2 separate regions of the Homo sapiens genome follow, and region 2 is linked to region 1. Evidence: promoter capture Hi-C in human tissues and cell types (Jung and others, 2019). All regions are on one chromosome and are shown on one strand. The core of a region is centred on a gene start or on the middle of the fragment in contact, and the rest is flanking DNA. Distances in the headings are between cores, read along the strand shown. Region 1 overlaps CATSPERG (catsper channel auxiliary subunit gamma). Region 2 holds the start of ZFP36 (ZFP36 ring finger protein).

The links. The method cuts DNA at HindIII sites, captures the fragments that hold promoters and counts their contacts. A contact is called where the count stands out against the background at its distance.
Region 2: a contact is called between the fragment with the promoter of ZFP36 here and a fragment that was not itself captured in region 1, in 1 of the 25 tissues and cell types used here (hippocampus).

The regions. Positions count from the first base shown.
Region 1 is chr19:38,339,969-38,343,030 of GRCh38, forward strand. The region is part of intron 3 of CATSPERG (catsper channel auxiliary subunit gamma); the gene reads left to right. Among named protein-coding and RNA genes, the nearest start is that of CATSPERG, 5.7 kb to the left of the region's middle. The HindIII fragment of the contact is 4,605 bases long and covers 1-3,062 here.
Region 2 is chr19:39,405,532-39,408,578 of GRCh38, forward strand. It overlaps ZFP36 (ZFP36 ring finger protein), which reads left to right and starts at 1,316. Exons shown (of 2, transcript NM_003407.5): 1 at 1,316-1,397; 2 at 2,212-3,047. The coding sequence starts at 1,374. RefSeq lists a silencer at 910-1,359 and enhancers at 1,480-1,679, 1,730-2,367, 2,368-3,006, 3,007-3,047. The HindIII fragment of the contact is 20,061 bases long and covers 1-3,047 here.

The sequences.
Region 1 (3,062 bases), core at 54-2,553:
CTCAGCCTACTGAGTAGCAGGAATTACAGGCATGCGCCACCATGCCTGGCTAATTTTTATATTTTAGTAGAGACAGGGTTTCACCATGTTGGCCAGGCTGGTCTCGAACTCCTGACCTCAGGTGATCCACCTGCCTTGGCCTCCCAAAGTGCTGGGACTACAGGCGTGAGCCACCATGCCTGGCCTGTTGAGATTATTCTTTCCCCGCTGAATTGTCTTGGCACCTTTGTCAAAAATCAATTGAATATAAATATAAGGGTTTCTTTCTGGACTCAATTCTATTCTAAATGAATTGATTTCTCAATAATTCATTGCTCTAAATGCCTATTCATATGCCAGTATCACAGAGTCTTTTTTTTTTTCTTTTTTTGAGACAGGGTCTCACTCTGTCACCCAGGCTGGAGTACAGTGGCATGATCTCGGCTCAGTACAGCCTACACATTCTGGGTTCAAGCGATTCTCCTGCCTCAGCTGCCCAAGTAGCTGGGACTACAGATGTGCGCCACCACGCCCGGCTAATTTTGTATTTTTGGTAGAGATGGGGTTTCTCCATATTGGTCAGGCTGGTCTTGAACTCCTGACCTCAGGTGATCCACCTGCCTCGGCCTCCCAAAGTGCTGGGATTATAGATGTGAGCCACCGCGCCCGGCCAATAATTTTATTTTTTTAGAGACAGGGTCTTGCGCTGTCACCCAGGCTGAAATGCAGTGGCTTGATCATAGCTCATTGCAGCCTCGACCTCCTGGGCTGAAGTGATCCTCCTGCCTCAGCCTCCCAAGTAGCAGGGACTACAGGCTCAAGCCATCACACCAGTGTACTTTCAATTAGACAGGGTCTCACTATGTTGCCTAAGGCTGGCATGAAAGAATTTCTGAGAGTAGTATTAATAAATGCAAATAATAAAATGAGGTAATACGTTAGAAAGGAGGGGGGGGCACTGTTTTAGTGGGGGTCGTTGGAGAAGGTCACTCTGGAAAGGCTTGAGCAGAGACTCAAATGATAAAAAGTGGGGATTATTAGGAGAGCCAGGTAAAGCTTTCCAGGCCGAGGGAAGAGCCAGCACGATGGCCCAGAGGTAGGAAAGAGGTCAGCATGTGTGAGAAACTATGAAGAGGACTTTGTGGCTGGAGCAGAGTGAGTGAGAGGGAGTGTGGGAGGAGAGGTCAGGGAAGTGATGGGGGAAGGTTTTTGGGGCTTGATGGGCCATGGTGAGGACTTGGCTTTTACTCTGAGACAGAGCCTGAGAGGGCCCTATGCAGAGGAGGGATTGGATCTGATTCCAGGCTTCACTGGCTCCCTCCTGTTGTTGGGGGAGCAGGGCAGGAGCAGTGAGACAAGGAGGAGGCTGCTACATTGCCCAGGCAGGAGATGACGGGGACAGGACCAGGGTGTTAGTGGCTACTGTCATCCTCACAGGAAGGAGGTCCCTGCCCCACTAGCACCTTCTCCTCTGCAATGGGAACTCAGGCAGGGCCAGGGACAGGTGTAGTTGACAGGATTGAAAAGAGCCTGGTGCTGGGTGTGGTGGCTCATACCTATAATCCCAGCACTTTGGGAGGCCAGGGAGAGAAGATTGCTTGAGCCCAAGAATTCAAGACCAGCCTGGACAACATAGGGAGACCCTGTCTCTACAAAAAAAATCAAAAAATTGGGCCGGGCATAGTGGCTCATGCCTGTAATCCCAGCACTTTGGGAGGCCAGGGCAGGTGGATCACCTGAGTTCAGGAGTTCGAGACTAGCCTGACCAACATGGTGAAACCCCATCTCTACTAAAAATGCAAAAATTAGCCGGGCGTGGTGGCGCATGCCTGTAATCCCAGCTACTTGGGAGGCTGAGGCAGGACGATCGCCTGAACCTAGGAGGCAGAGGGTGCAATGAGCTGAGATGGCGCCCTTATACTCCAGCCTGGGCAACAAGTGCAAAACTCCGTCTCGGAAAAAAAATAAAAAATAAAAAAATTAGCCAGGCGTGGTAGTGGTACCTGTAGTCCCAGCTATTTGGGAGGCTGAGGTAAGAGGATTGCTGAAGTCTGGGAGAGGTGGAGGTTACAGTGAGCTGTGATGGCACCACTGCACTCCGGACTGGGCAACAGAGCAAGACCTTATCTTAAAAAAAAAAAAAAAAAGCCAGGTGCAGTGGCTTACACCTGTAATCCTAGCATTTTAGGAGGCTAAGGCTGGAGGATTGCTTGAGGCCAAGAGTTCAAGACCAACCTGGCCAACATAGCAAGACCCTGTCCCATGTAAAAAATAAATAAATAAATAAATAAATAAATAAATTACAGAAATAGCCAGCCTGGGCAACAGAGTAGACTCTGTCTCTACAAAAATTAAACAGTTTTCAAAGAAAGAATGGCCTGGTGGCTCATGCCTGTAATCCCAGCACTTTGGGAGGCCGAAGCGCGCAGATCAGTTGAGGTCAGGAGTTTGAGACCAGGCTGGCCAACGTGGTGAAACCTCATCTTTACTAAAAATACAAAAATTAGCTGGGCATGGTGGTGCACGTGTGTAGTCCCAGCTACTCAGGAGGCTGAGGCAGGAGAATCACTTGAACCCAGGAGACAGAGGCTGCAGTGAGTCGAGATCATGCCACTGCACTGTAGCCTGGGCGACAGAGTGAGACTCCTTCTTGAAAAAAAAAAAAAAAAGGAAAAGAAAGGAGCCTGGCAAAGAAAGTAAAGAAAGTCAGCCCTCTCGATGAAGGGCTGTGCACAGGTGCTGAATCTGGTAAATCCCTCGCCCTGGTCCCACAGCAACCAAGGCCTCCCCTTGGTGGCCTGAGTGCCGCCTTCTCTCGGGGACGCCTCTTAGCCTTCACTGGTGCTGTTCTGCATGCCTGAAACATCCTTCTCCTCTTCTCCCATCTCCACTCTAAGCGCTCCCCACCCTTTTCTATTCAGCCAGGATCCCGCATCCCTGGGAGGTTGTCCAGGCATGCCCTGTCACCCTCGTCCTCAGTCCCTTCCTGTGTAATCGCCCCATCCTACACTCACCCCAAGCTCAAGGCCCAGAACTTGGCTGTCCTCTGACTTGCATAGGTGGCAGAAAGTCTGCTGCAGAGA
Region 2 (3,047 bases), core at 66-2,565, 1.1 Mb after region 1:
CCTGCCTTAAATGGGCATACCACCTGGCATTAGGATTAATGTGCGTAAAGTACTTAGAACTCAGCCCAGGTGAGTTCTCCTTAACTCAGCCTAGAAGAGATCATCCGCCCGAGGGTGAGGGGGCTAGAGCCGCCCTGTGAATTGGGAAAGGAGGCCCCTTTTCAGCCTTGCCAGGTATCCTGGACCCCACCCAACCCACTCACTCACCCACCCAACCCCAGCAAGTGGGGAGAGGGAGAGCAGTCCAGGTCTCCTTATCTGTCTGGGCTGTTTAGGAGTGAGACCACACAAGGCAGGCAGTTCTCAGAGAATTCCCCTCCAAGGCCTGCTGGCTCTTTCTTGGCACTTTGCTCTGCAGATTTCTTTCCGTAAGTGCTTATTTCTCACAGTCTTTCTCCTTTTTGTCCAGTTTCTTTTTCTTTTTAATTTTTTTAAATAGTATTTTTTGTAGACATGGGATCTCACTGTTGCCCAGGCTGATCTTGAACTCCTGATCTCAGGTAATCCACCTGCCTCATCCTCTGAAAGTACTGGGATTGGCCGGGCTTGGTGGCTCACACCTGTAATTCCAGCTCTTTGGGAGGCGGAGGTGGGAGGATCGCTTGAGCCCCGGAGCTGGAGATTAGCCTGGGCAACATAGGGAAACCCCGTCTTTCAAAAAAAAAAAAAAAGAAGAAGAAAAAGGAAAGAAAAACACAAAAAGTGCTGGGATCACAGGTGTGAGCCACTGCGCTCAGCCCCTTTCTGTTTCTTTTTGTGATCCTCCCAACCCTCTTCTCCCTCTGAATCTGTCTCTGGGACTGTCTCTGTCTCCCCGTCTTCCCTCCCTTCCTCACCCTGTCTATCTCTCTCTGTATGTCTCTTGGTGTGTGTGTCTCTCTCGATGTTTTTCTCTCTGCCTGTCTGCCTGTCTGTACCCCTCTGCGTCTCTCCCCGCCCCCATCCGTCTGTGTCGCACGCGCACCCCCATCGGGCTTCTGCTCTTGTCAATTGCCCCTGGGGCCCTGCCCCCACCTCCGCCCCAGTTTCCTTCTACAAGCCTCAGTCTCCAGCTTTGAAAACTGGGCAGGCGTCCCCCCATCCGCACCCCCACCCCTTCCCCACGCATTCCCCGCTCGGTCACGGCTGTCCACCGGCCAAGCTCAGGCGCGTCCTGGCCCAGGGCCGGGCGGAAGGGAACCAGTCCAGGGCCAGCCAGGCTGCGCCGGGGGCGCGCGTCCGGGAAGCGCCCCTCCTGCCCCGCCCCCGGCCCCGGCCCCGGCCCCGCCCCGTGCTTGCAGTTTCCTATAAGTAGCCGGCTCTCGGTGCCAGCCTCAGCCTGACTTCAGCGCTCCCACTCTCGGCCGACACCCCTCATGGCCAACCGTTACACCATGGATCTGACTGCCATCTACGAGGTGAGTCCCCGCCGCACGGCATCCCCGGTACCTGCATGCCTGAGTCCGAGTCCCCACCTCTCTAGCGCCGCAAACTCCAGCCCGGGACGCTTGCCTCCCTTCTCCAACTGGGGCTCCCTAGCGCCGCGCCCTCCAGCCTGGGGCCCCTGCCTCCCGCTCAGACCAGCTTGGTGATTTGGAGGTGAAAATGGAACCCGCGACACCCGGCTCTTCGCTCAAACATGGGTGGGGCGGCCCATGCAAGTGGAAAGTCGGAGAACTTTTCTCAGACCGAGGCTGCCTGGAGGCGGAAGTGGCCCCCATACCTGGCTCACCCCTAGTCGTTGCTGAGGGCGTGGTTTTGCGCGGAGGCGTCTCTGGGGCTGAAGTCTCAGGGTGGGGGGATCCGACTTCTGTCTCTCCAGTCCCTGACCGTAGAGACAGAGAACCCTAAAACCGAAGCAATCCGGACTTCCAGGTCAACTTTGCCCGGTTTCTCCAGTTGTGAAACTGGAGATCCCGACGCGTGGGTCATATCCGGGGAGGACAAGAGACCCAAAATTGGGAAACAGTGGTGCGCCCTGACTTCGGGGTCCCCCTCTTGGTCCAGCCGGGGAAGCCGGGATTCCTGGGTCCCTCGGGATAAGGCCTCGGTGGTGGGTAAACTCAGAACCTCCAACTCTGGGTTCCTGGCATCCGGAACCCAGGGGTTTCTGCGGGCGGGTGGGGCTCAGGCGGGGAGCCCACAAACCGGCCTGGCAAGCTCTAGTTCCCTGCAGCTGGGGTGGGGCGTCGCCCTGCATTTTCAGGTGCCTTAACCGACCCATTTCCGCAGAGCCTCCTGTCGCTGAGCCCTGACGTGCCCGTGCCATCCGACCATGGAGGGACTGAGTCCAGCCCAGGCTGGGGCTCCTCGGGACCCTGGAGCCTGAGCCCCTCCGACTCCAGCCCGTCTGGGGTCACCTCCCGCCTGCCTGGCCGCTCCACCAGCCTAGTGGAGGGCCGCAGCTGTGGCTGGGTGCCCCCACCCCCTGGCTTCGCACCGCTGGCTCCCCGCCTGGGCCCTGAGCTGTCACCCTCACCCACTTCGCCCACTGCAACCTCCACCACCCCCTCGCGCTACAAGACTGAGCTATGTCGGACCTTCTCAGAGAGTGGGCGCTGCCGCTACGGGGCCAAGTGCCAGTTTGCCCATGGCCTGGGCGAGCTGCGCCAGGCCAATCGCCACCCCAAATACAAGACGGAACTCTGTCACAAGTTCTACCTCCAGGGCCGCTGCCCCTACGGCTCTCGCTGCCACTTCATCCACAACCCTAGCGAAGACCTGGCGGCCCCGGGCCACCCTCCTGTGCTTCGCCAGAGCATCAGCTTCTCCGGCCTGCCCTCTGGCCGCCGGACCTCACCACCACCACCAGGCCTGGCCGGCCCTTCCCTGTCCTCCAGCTCCTTCTCGCCCTCCAGCTCCCCACCACCACCTGGGGACCTTCCACTGTCACCCTCTGCCTTCTCTGCTGCCCCTGGCACCCCCCTGGCTCGAAGAGACCCCACCCCAGTCTGTTGCCCCTCCTGCCGAAGGGCCACTCCTATCAGCGTCTGGGGGCCCTTGGGTGGCCTGGTTCGGACCCCCTCTGTACAGTCCCTGGGATCCGACCCTGATGAATATGCCAGCAG